3 separate regions of the Homo sapiens genome follow, and all the other regions are linked to region 2. The links are contacts of gene promoters, found by promoter capture Hi-C in human tissues and cell types (Jung and others, 2019). All regions are on one chromosome and are shown on one strand. Each heading gives the region's core, a stretch centred on a gene start or on the middle of the fragment in contact. The rest is flanking DNA. Distances are from core to core; before and after follow the strand shown.

Evidence for each region. The method cuts DNA at HindIII sites, captures the fragments that hold promoters and counts their contacts. A contact is called where the count stands out against the background at its distance.
Region 1: a contact is called between a fragment that was not itself captured here and the fragment with the promoter of RBM23 in region 2, in 1 of the 25 tissues and cell types used here (heart left ventricle).
Region 3: a fragment that was not itself captured here is called in contact with the fragment with the promoter of RBM23 in region 2 in 1 of the 25 tissues and cell types used here (H1 embryonic stem cells).

What each region holds. Positions count from the first base shown.
Region 1 is chr14:22,516,257-22,520,067 of GRCh38, reverse strand. It overlaps TRA, TRAJ27, TRAJ26, TRAJ25 and TRAJ24. Among named protein-coding and RNA genes, the nearest start is that of TRD-AS1, 35 kb to the right of the region's middle. RefSeq lists an enhancer at 2,152-2,261. The HindIII fragment of the contact is 4,026 bases long and covers 1-3,811 here.
Region 2 is chr14:22,917,574-22,921,421 of GRCh38, reverse strand. RBM23 (RNA binding motif protein 23) reads left to right here and starts at 2,273. Exons shown (of 14, transcript NM_001077351.2): 1 at 2,273-2,423. PRMT5-AS1 (PRMT5 antisense RNA 1) reads right to left here and starts at 1,966. Exons shown (of 2, transcript NR_120600.1): 1 at 302-1,966. It overlaps PRMT5 (protein arginine methyltransferase 5), which reads left to right. Exons shown (of 17, transcript NM_006109.5): 17 at 366-893. The coding sequence ends at 518. RefSeq lists a silencer at 1,899-2,198 and enhancers at 2,459-2,528, 2,619-2,728, 2,799-2,968, 3,457-3,848. The HindIII fragment of the contact is 12,061 bases long and covers 1-3,848 here.
Region 3 is chr14:22,625,996-22,629,820 of GRCh38, reverse strand. No RefSeq gene overlaps it. Among named protein-coding and RNA genes, the nearest start is that of OR6J1, 16 kb to the left of the region's middle. The HindIII fragment of the contact is 6,013 bases long and covers 1-3,825 here.

The DNA of each region.
Region 1 (3,811 bases), core at 690-3,189, 400 kb after region 2:
CTAAGGGCAGGTGAGGCTCCAGGGAATGGGGCTTACCTGGGGTGACCACAACCTGGGTCCCTGCTCCAAACTGGAATTTCCCCCAGCTGTCAGTTGTCACACTGTGACAAACACCTCTACAAAATGGCTTCCCCAGAGAAGACAGCTGCTGAATGAAGACAAACTGCTCATGGGGAAACAATCTTGCTACAAAATGAGGCAACTGCATGATATGAGATATAAGCTTTTCCCCCTTTCTCTTTTAATTTCTCTTCTTTCAAGACACTAAGGATGGTGTGTGCCAAGAGCTGCACCTCCTGGGCGGCAAGGGCAGAAAGCCAGACTGCTGGGGTCAGTGAAGCCTGGGCGTCCGCTTTAGATGCTGCAGGGATAGAAACCCACCAGCCTAGGCGTTTACTCAAGGTCAGACCCAGTCCTCAGCACTACTCAAATGACAGCTGATCACAACGGTTGCCCTGTCATTTAAATAACTTGGTGTTTTGAGTTCACGAGCCTACTGGAAAAACTACTGCAGGTTGCTTGGGATCTGTTCCTATTGGAAGAGTGTTAATCACTGGCCTCTACTTGCCTGAGCTTGTTTGTTTGTTTGAGATGAAGTTTCGCTTTTGTTGCCCAGGCTGGAGTGCAATGGCATGATCTTGGCTCACTGCAACCTCCGCCTCCCGGGTTCAAGCGATTCTCCTGCCTCAGCCTTCTGAGTAGCTGGGATTACAGGTGCGTGCCACCACACCCAGCTAATTTTTTTTATTTTTAGTAGAGACGGGCTTTCACCATGTTGGCCAGGCAGGTCTCGAACTCCTGACCTTCAAGTGATCCACCTGCCTCAGCTTCCCAAAGTGCTGGGATTACAGGCATGAGCCACTCTGCCCCGCCCTGAGTTTCAAAATCTATCAAATGGGGATGACTATGCTGGAGTCCCCTTCTGAGGAAGACCTTGTTCTCAGATGGTTCTTATTCAAGTCTGACAGAGTGGAGGGGTCTCAAGGCTGGGCTTATTGGTGGGGTCCTGGTGGGTTTCTTCCCCTCCACACCTCTTAAAGCTCCTTCAAGGATGAAGAAGGTGACGAGGTACTGGGCCTTGGTCTGCTCAACACCTTTAATGTCCTCCTGACCCAAGGAGGCACCCGTGGAAAAGAGGGCAAGTTTTCCTCTTGGAGATAATCATATTCAGCACATATAAATTATATGTCACTTACTTGGCTTGACAAGCAGCCTTGTCCCCTTCCCAAAGATAAAGGAGAAGCCTTGTCCTTCTGCATAGTGATTATCTCAGCATCAAAAACCTAACAGCTCAGCTTTCCCCGACACAAAGCCCTCCTGAGAAGGGACCCTCCAAAGGAGTGCATTTCCTCCAGCGTTAATCACACGGCCTTGTGATTTTCCTTCCCGAAAATGAACCCTTCCTCTGTATTGTCCTTATGGTTCTGTTTCTCATTCCTTTTTTAACCTTCTTCTCCATCACCACTCCTGAGGTCACGGTGGACTCCTGGCCTCAAGACCCTGCAGCTTCTCCCCACATCAAGCACTGGACTCATTTTCTATCTCCACTTAACTGTACTTACAGGGCAGCACGGACAATCTGGTTCCGGGACCAAAGACAAAATTCTGACCATAGTTATCCCCACAGTGTTTCTGGGCTCAGCAAAAACCCCCTAGAGCTTCCTCCCTCCAGCCTGGGCATCTCAACACCACAAACAACACAGCACTCAGAACCTGTGTTTTTGGCTTTAAAGGGATAAAGCCAGCCCATTTATCAAGTCAAGTCTTGAGAACAAAGGGAGTTTGGTAACCACTAAGCCGGCAAAGGTTCCAAACTTAACAACCCAGCAACCCCCTGTGTCCTGGAGGATGCAGCTCTGCATTAATGAGCCTGGGCCTTTTTCATGGAGACAGGCTCTGGGGGCTGGAAAGAGGCTTTAAGAGGTTCTCTCATTTCTCCTCCTGCCTCGAGGCAGGGCTGCACTCCAATCACCTCTGATAGCAGGGTGTCTATCTCCTTTCAAAAACTCTCTAGAGAAAGTGCCCTGGCAACTACTCCTGACAGCTCATTTTCACTGTTCAAAAACCTATTAGAAAGGTTTTACCACTAACCTAACTCCCTTCTTGCAGTATTAGCCATGTCCTGTGGTCTGAATCCTGGTGGAGGTGGAGAGCCGAGCCCCTCCGTCTTCTGTTTAATGCTTCCTTTCCCAGATTTAGATGTGTGACTTAACTCCCACCTTGCCCTCAACCTCTTTTCTTTGAAATAAACTGCCTCATTTTGCCTCTGCAGACTTTACTGATCCTCTACCTCCAGGTTGGAGAGTTTCATTTAGTGGCTATTTTCAGGAGCCATATTTCTCATGAGCTTCACTACCCTGAAGAGGAGAAGGACAACCTTGGGATAGATCGCCCTTCCCATAAAGTTTCCATCTTCCCTCTGTCATTGCCCCTCCACATGGGGAGCCTGTCTTTTGGGAAGGGGCTCGGGACACCTTAAAGGAAATCATGCTGGGGTCATTTTGGTGATGGGGAAGTACAAGGTTTCAGTTCTGCAACCTTTGCCCTGCCATCCTGTGAACCGCATCCCTGCTCCAAGCGTGTGTGTGTAGCCTTGAGGATCCCAGCTATGCAGCTCTCTGCAGAAACCTCTCCCCTGCCTCTGACACTTGGATGATTTTGTATTTAAATTAGTCAGGATTCTTTGTATTTCCACTTTCAAATCCCAGGTGAAGAATTTCATAGAACAGGCTGACATTCTCCACCCTCCCCCCAATTCCAGCTCTGCTGCTGATGCACAACAGAACCTTGACAGAAGAGCCCCAGGGGCCAAACAAAGGCTCTGCTGTGGGTTAGAGATGATGTTTATCATTATTATTAATAGCGAGGGTTTAATGAGCTTTTTCTATGTTCTGAGCACTATGCTAACTACTTTAGCTGTATTATTTCATCTTTACGATGACTCAACGAGGTAGGAATATTTTTATCTTCATTTTGTGGATGGGGAAACTGAGGCTCAGAGAGATTAAGTAACTTGTTCAAGGTCACACAGCTAGGTAAGTAGTGGAGCAAGGACTTGAATTCAGGTTTTTCTGTTTCCAAAGCTTGTGCTATCCTGCTTAATCCATTATTACTTGAGCTCAAAATGTCCAGAGGGGACCCATGACACGTCAGAGGTGCTGCAGAGGTGGGCTTAGTGCTCAGCCTCATATTCTATGGCAGTTACTTGATTCTCAATCCAGATGTACAGAGTTCTAGTGGTTCTTTTCAAGTAGATATTTAAATCGCAGCAGGGAGATCAAACTTAGATATGAGAAGTACTTTCTGGCAATAAGGGTTGCCAAATTTTGGAATTAATTACAGAGAGATATTTCCCATCCTAGACCATCCGATATAGTGCAAGCACATCCTATATGGCCAGAGATCCTGCTGGGAAGCCTGGTCAGGGGTGGTGGAGAACCTTCCTGACAGCTCCATTGGCTCATTATTGTTTGTTTCTCTATTTCTTTCAAAATGTTGTATATGCTCCTGAGAAGCCCTTACCATGAGCTAGAGCAAGAGTCTGCATGTGGGCATGCGTGTGTGCATACATGCACTCATATCTCATTTTAAAGCAGGGAAGAGAACCAACTCTCTTTGGCCTGGGGAAAGAACATTAATAAAGAGCCCAACCAGATGCATAGGATTAAAGTCTTTTTCAAACTAATGGTTTGATTGATTGCCCCTGAAGGCCTAGGCAAAGAAGAACACAACTTACTTGGCTTCACAGTGAGCGTAGTCCCATCCCCAAAGGTTGATTTGCCTGCATTGGTGTTACACAGTCTTTAGTGCT
Region 2 (3,848 bases), core at 1,024-3,523:
TGTCTATCTTCTTTCCTACCTCAGGCTTTCATGCCTTTCTCTTGCCTGTAGAGTTCTTTGCTTGTCTCTTCACACAGTTAACCTATCTTCTAGGTCTTCTTTAAACATTTTTATTGTGAGATAAACTTTCTCTGATCTCCTAGACTAGGTTAGTGTTCCCTTTCATAGGTGTTTTTCTGACTCTGTACATGTTCACAGCTCTCACCACACCTTTGATTATTTGTGTTCTGATAGGCTTCAAATAACTTTCATGAGGGTTGGGACAGTCTTGTCATGTTTATCATTTTATCTCCACACCTACCTTAATACATTGCCATGTATAATTCATAGCTTCACCCTGAACCTTCCTGTCTTTCTTCTTACAGCAGCCCATAACGGTACGTGAAGGCCAAACCATCTGTGTGCGTTTCTGGCGATGCAGCAATTCCAAGAAGGTGTGGTATGAGTGGGCTGTGACAGCACCAGTCTGTTCTGCTATTCATAACCCCACAGGCCGCTCATATACCATTGGCCTCTAGCCCTGCGTGCCAAGTGTCCAGAGCCTTGGAAGCAGCTTCAGGTTCTGCTCCTGTAGTACAGAAGGTGCAGTACATCTATGGGCTGTGATTCCCCTTGCCCATCAGAGAGGAGCATTTCAATCTGCTTTCCTGCCTTACATCAAGGTGGGCAAGGGATTATAATTAATTGCAGGGCTCAAGCCACCAATCTATGAAGACCTCAGGCCAGGGGGTGAGGAATTAGTGCTGGATTTGAAGCTACGCACTCAGCCTCAAGAACTCCCTGGAATATCCCTGAGAACATGGGGTTTGAACGGATTTTCAGCCTTTTTCTGTTCTTGTTTTGATGGTTTTGTGTAAGAGGAAATACAAATAAAGTTATAGCCCTTTACTGCACGACCATGCTGCCCCCTGCCACTATTTTCCCACACCTCACTTAGACCCAGGCATGTTCAGATCTGTCCTCTTAGCCTATCCAAGACCCAAAGGGGCCTAGTTGTATTCCCTACTTAGGAAGCTGAGCAATGACTATTGTAGTCCTGGATATAGGCCTTTCTGACCAGCTACAGTGAGCTCTTGTCCATTAGAACCTACAGTTAGGCTTTTCTCTGGGGAGGAGGCATAGAGTTTGCCACCTTGGAAAAAGATGGAATAGTGAGTGAAGCCAGTTTCTCTTCTGTATTCTTGAGCTACTGCACGGGCAACTGGTTACCTCTCCTTTGTTACCTCTTGGGAAGACTGGAATCCATCCAGGAATCTCCAGCAAGAAGCTACCTGTTTTTTTTGAATAAAACCACAGGGTTACAGTTTGAAGTCCTAAGAGATCATCTAGTCCAATTTTCCATTTTACAGAGGGGGAGTTTGAAATGGGTACAATGATGTGATATTAGTATCCAAGTCAGAATTGGAAGTCAGGTCCTCCGACTCTGGCTCTCCCCATGTTATAACCAGCTACATTTTTGGTAGCTACAGTAGACCACAGAAGTGTCTAGGGGCTCCTGGAGGCCCCTGGAAAGTGAGGGTGGACATCAGTTCCTTCTTTCCGGTTAGAGGACTCAGTACTGCTACATCCAAGGAGTCACCTGAGAAACTTTCAAATTTACCCTTGCAGTGGGAAATGTGGGGGTACTGATTTGAACGGAAGTTATGACCTGTGGGAGCAGGCCATGACGATAGGGCAGAGTGTGGGCCAAGACAAGTCTGTGGCAAGATCTGCTTTTCCCTGGTCCCAAGCACCGAGGTCAGGAGAGGTGGTCGGGAAGGTTGTTTAGGTAGCCGGCTCAGAACGGGGATTTCGAGTTCAGCATCCCCGGACGTTAAACAAACGCCGCTGTTCTCTACAAAGCTTAACCTTAACGACCGACGTGACTCCTTCAGCAAATCCGAGTAGGGACGGCCAAGGATGTAAATTGTGCCTCCTCGTTGGCTCCGCCCATCGCACTGGTCTAGTCTACGCGAGCACCAGGAGTGGGGTTGGTGGCTTCTTCACTCCCGTTTTCAGTCCCGTTTTCCCCGCCCTCCGCAAGTCATTTAACCAATGAGAGAGTGATGGGCGGCTACCAAAGGACGCTTCCATTTTCTGGAGTCTCTGAGGTTAGCCAATCAATGGGAACTCGGTGGTTGCTAAGACGCATTTGAGTTTGCTCCACCCATACTTAGGACTTTAGCCAATGAGAACCTGTACTTTGGACGGTTGCCGCGAAACCAGTGAGGTTATTTCCAAAGCCGGGGAGTCTTGGCGCATGCGCAGATTGGGGAAGGTTCTGGAAGACGGCAGAGCTGCCGCCATTTTGCGGGAAGAGGAGGCTCTGTACCTGCAGTGCTGCTTTTCTTGCCTAGACTCTAGGAACTATCCGAGCTCCACTCCCCACAACATACTCAAAGGAACGGAGAGAACCGGGACCCCCCTGCGGGGACCCGGAACTGGTGAGAAACCCCAAAACCCGGTCCCCACCAGACGTCACCAATGCGTGACGTTGCTGCACGGCGCCTCCCCCCTGACGTCACGGGCAGAAAATGGCGTCACGAAGAGATTCAGGCGAACTTTTAACATTAAAAAAACCTTTGTTTGTTTTGACCTGGAAGTGTTAGCTACTTAAATGTAGCCCACTGCCACGATTTTAGAGTTGGGCACCCTCGTGGCTGTATCTTGCACCGATAAAGATGCGGTTTCTAGAATCCTGTGATTTTTCTTTCCGGGTCTCTGCAGCCGTGACACTTAGGGTCGCCCACACTGGAGAGGGAGCATCGACCCTCCGCGGCCTGAGAGGACACGCATCATCAGTTTCAGCCACTCGCACCACCATTCAGAGAGAGAGAAGGGAATTGAGCTTTCTTCCTCAATCTCTAGTCTGTCGAAGATTCATGTTCACTATGTTGACCTTTATGGGCTTTTCCCATTTAACTTTTTCAAGCACTCATTCCAGTAGGCGTATTATGATGCCACATATGAAGATTGAGCCCTGGGACACTGGCTCCCGCAGAGATTGTGCCAGTTGGTTGCCTATAGGACCTCTTTTTTTTTATTTTTTTAAGGCGGAGTGTCGCTTTGTCACCCAGGCTGGAGTGGAGTGGCGCGATCTCGGCTCACTGCATCCTGTCTCCCGGGTTCTAGCGATTCCCCTGCCTCAGCCTCCCGAGTAGCTGGGATTACAGGCGCCTGCCACAACGCCCGGCTAATTTTTGTATTTTTAATAGAGATGGGGTTTTGCCATGTTAGCCAGGCTGACCTCGAACTCCTGACCTCAGGTGATCCACCCGCCTCGGCCTCCCAAAGTGCTGGGATTACAGGCGTGAGCCACCGCGCCCGGCCTATAGGACCATTTTTTAAAGCTACACAACATGGGGAGGGTGGTCCTTCAAGTAGCTTTTATCGTTCTCATTGTTCCTCTTTTGTTAAGCTGCCTTCAGTTTGTAGGTGTTTGTGCCCAGCTAAGTGATCAGACCCTGGGGATGGCGCTACCATCACCCCTGGGGCTCCAGCTTTTCGTGAATTCTTCCCGAATTGGTCTGACAGTGGTTCTCTCTGCTCCTTTAGCAGTGGGGTCTATCTGTTGGCTTGTGCTATGACGAGGTCTAGGAACTGACGTGATTGTGGGTCTCTAATACTGTTTTTGGAGCAGGATGGAAGAAAACATACTCTATGTGGATGAGATTGAGTGGACCTTGACCCATAAGTTGGGACATGAAGAGAGCGTTTGAAAACTACCAACCTGGGCCGGGTGCAGTGGCTCACGCCTGTAATCCCAGCACTTTGGGTGGCCGAGGCGGGCGGATCACGAGGTCAGGAGATCGCGACCATCCTGGCTAACACGGCGAAACCCCGTCTCTACTAAAAATACAAAAAAAAAA
Region 3 (3,825 bases), core at 611-3,110, 290 kb after region 2:
ACCAGAGGCGAATCCATACGGGTCTGCAGCAACCTCAATCCTTGTCTCCTCAGAAGAAAGAATTTGACTGAGGGGCATAAGATGGAAAAAGAGACCATGGGAAGTTTCAGAGCAGGGGTGGAAGTTTATTTAAAAAGGCTTTAGAACAGCAAAGAAAGGAAAGTATGCTTGGAAGAGATCCAAGTGGGCACCGAGGTAAAGTGCAGTGTTTAACCTTGATCCTAGGACTCTATAGGCTGGCCCCTTTCCCATGATTCTTCCCTTAGGGTGTGCTGCCTGCACGTGCAGTGCCCCCCTTACCCTTGGGAAGTGAGCACACACATTGTGTTTAGGAAGTTGTACCCACGCCCAACTGAGGCTTTCTTCCCTTTTCCGGTGGAGTGCCCCTGGAAGGTCATACTCCGCCATTTTGTCTCTTAATATGCATGCCCAAAAAGATGCTTCTTCCTGGCATCTGTATTCAATTAACACTTCAGTGCAACAGGTGTGGACCCTCAGGATAATGGCGTCTCCCTGGCTGCCAATTTATCACTTTTAGAGAGGCAATGTGACAAATCCTGAACCATCACCTGACATTCCTAGTTGGTGGAGGATAGCCCTCTCCTGCCCCACTCATGCCTGACTACCTGTAACATCTTCCCCAAGAAATAGCAAATCCCCTTCAGTGCAGAAGATTGGTTGATATTAATTTGGGGGTCTCCTACCCTTTCTCCCAGAAACCTACATCAGTGTTTCACATACCAGATATGCTCAGTAAGTATTTACTAAATAAAGTGAAAATATGTGCAGTTATCAAAAGTCCTTTTTGAAAATGTAAATTTTAGCTTGGATTTGGGTTGGAGTATTCCCACTAAATAAAGCAGTCCAGCCCCTTAGAAAGGAGGAAGAAGCCTGCAGGCACTAGGAGGACCCCCTGAGGGGCAGTGAGCATCAGGAAAGGGTAATGGGTTCAGATACAGGGAAAGGGGCATGAGGGAAAAGTTCATCTGCTTGCACACTTTGCCTTAGCTGTCTGTACTTGCTCCCAATTCTACACTCATTCTAGTTCCAAGACCAAGTGGGAGGTAGCTTCTGCTGTAAACTCCTTAGAAAACAGAGCCTTAGAGATGGCCAGTGGTCCAGTCCCAGAAAGTCTGGGGATTGGGGGAGCATGTCAAAGTGTCACAGACCTCTCTAGTCTATGACATGATTTTTATTCTTTAATATATCTGTGGCATCCACAGCCTGCATCTGCCTGTGGCCTCCATTTACTCTCCCAGTAGCTCCAGAGAGTTTCTCCAGGATGCAGCTGGCAGAACCTAGGGGGCCGGGGGTGGCCTTGGCTTCTGAAGGTGTACAAGGGGGTCTGACACTCTGTAGCTGTTGGGAAATAGAATTAAAAACAAAATCTATTCCCAGCCCAGAAAACTGCCCCACAAAGGTTGTGCACATGTACCCTAAAACTTAAAGTATAATAATAATAAAAAAAGAAAACAAATAAAACAGTTTTATTATTGAATAAGCATTAAACCAGAATATAATGCTCATCACAGGCAATTTTCTAAAAAGATTGCAAAGACGGAAAGAAATTTCACCCTTTTATAAAGACATATTAATAAAATTAATTCCATACATTTTCTCTAGATAAACAACAACTAGTCCTCAAGTAAAAGGACTTGACAACCCCACTTGTCACACACAGTTTGTCCTCAGTTCACTTGGTAATTGGGGTGAATCATCTGTTCTATCTAATTGGCTTTATGACAAGGAAAAATAAACTTTACATATCTTTATAACAGGAGGTAGTTTAGGAGCAAGAGGTTCCTCCCCTCCCACCAGGACTGGGACATACAGGTGCTATCTTCCTTGATGATTTCAAAGAGATATTTCCCAGGTCCTTAAGAAAGACATTCCTGGGTTGTAATGCTGTTCAGAGGATTAGTTAACATTTAAAAAGTTTTATTTATAGTTCAAAGAGACAGAGAAAGAACTCATATATTTTTTGAGGTAAATGTGTAAGGAAAGGGAAGAGGGAGAAGTTTCTTCCTTTATTTTCAGCAGAGAAAAACAAGCCACTTATTTTGAATTTGCACTTGCCATTACGCAGCCCTGAGGCTTGGAGGAGGGGCGGGAGACATTCTGCCAATGCTCTTTGCGTCCGCCTGCTTTGCCAATTTTGGCGTATGTTTGTTCAGGATCCCTACAAAACAAGGTGAGCAGACCTGATTCCTGTCTGAGGGGCCTCATTCCCGAAACTGACATCACAGGTGTAAACCAAAGTTAGAATCAATTTTGGAAAACTTTTTTGTTTTTAATATTTTTAATTATGAAAATCCACATTCACTGTAAAATTTTAGCCAGTACAGAAGTGTATAAAGTAAAACATGAAAAGTCCTGCCAGCCAATTCCATTCTGTAGCAGTCAACATTGTTAGTTAAACATATATATATATATATATATATATATTTTTTTTTTTTTTTTTTTTTTTGAGACGGAGTCTCGCTCGGTCGCCCAGGCTGGAGTGCAGTGGCATGATCTTGGCTCACTGCAATCTCCGCCTCCTGGGTTCAAGTAATTCTCCTGTCTCAGCCTCCTGAGTAGCTGGGATTATAGGTGTGAGCCACCTTGCCCAGCCTAGGATGCTTATACTATATATGTATATATTCATTCATATTCACACATATAACTTTTGTTTTACAAAAAAGAAAGCGTTATATGAATTGTCTGCAACTTGATTTTTAAAATCTTCCCATGTCAATACTGTCAACAGAAAGAGTCAAACTGTAGAATAATTGAAGAGATTTATTCTGAGCCAAATGTGAGTGACCACGGCCTGTGACACAGCCCCAGGAGATCCTGATGACATATGCCCAAGGTGGTCAGGCTACAGCTTGTTTTTATACATTTTAGGGAGACATAAGACATCAACCAGTACATGTAAGATGTGCCTTGGTTTGATCTGGAAAGGCGGGACAACTCAAAGCAGGGAGGCGGTTGAGGGTGGAGGCATTGAGGAGGGTGGGGACGAAGAAGGGCTTCCGTGTCAAAGGTGAATTCAAAGATTTTCTGATTAGCAATTGGCCGAGAGTTTATCTAAAGCCCCGGAATTAATAAAAGGGAGTGTCTGGGTTCAGATGGGTTGTGGAGACTGAGGTTCTTATTATGCAGATGAAGTCTTCAGGTAGCAGGCTTCAGAGAGAACATCAGACTTAAAGAGACAGCTTTGCAGGGCCATTTCAAAATATGTCAAAGCAATATATTTTGGAGCAAAATACTCGGTTTCTTTCAGGGCCTGCTATCTTGGTCTGCATATTGTTATCTTATTGCTACCAAGAATCTGTGCTGCCTGTCTTAAGGTATAAGACTGTTTTAATGTTAATGCTGGTCAGCTGTGCCTGAATTCCAAAGGGAGGAAGGTTTAAGGAGGCATGTCTGACCACCCATTCTCATCATGGCCTGAACTAGTGTTTCAAGTTTACTTTAGAATGCCCTTGGTCGAGAGGAGGGGCCCATTTAGTTGGTTCGGGGTGCTTAGAATTTTATTTTTGGCTTACAGTACCCATAAAATTCCATAATTCATTTTTAGATGTCACATTTATAACCAATGAACACACATTTCTTCTATTTTGTTACTGGTGCTAAATTTTTTTGGCATAAATTCCTGCTATTAGGACTTATGGCTAATAGTGTAGGACCATTTTAAATTTCAGTAATTATTTTGATAAATTCTGCCAAGTTGCCTCCAAAAATGTGGAAACAATTTCCTCTCCCACCAACATTGTATAAAAAATCCAACTTCTTCACTTTTTGCCATTACTAGCTATTGTCAATCTTTAAAATTTTTGT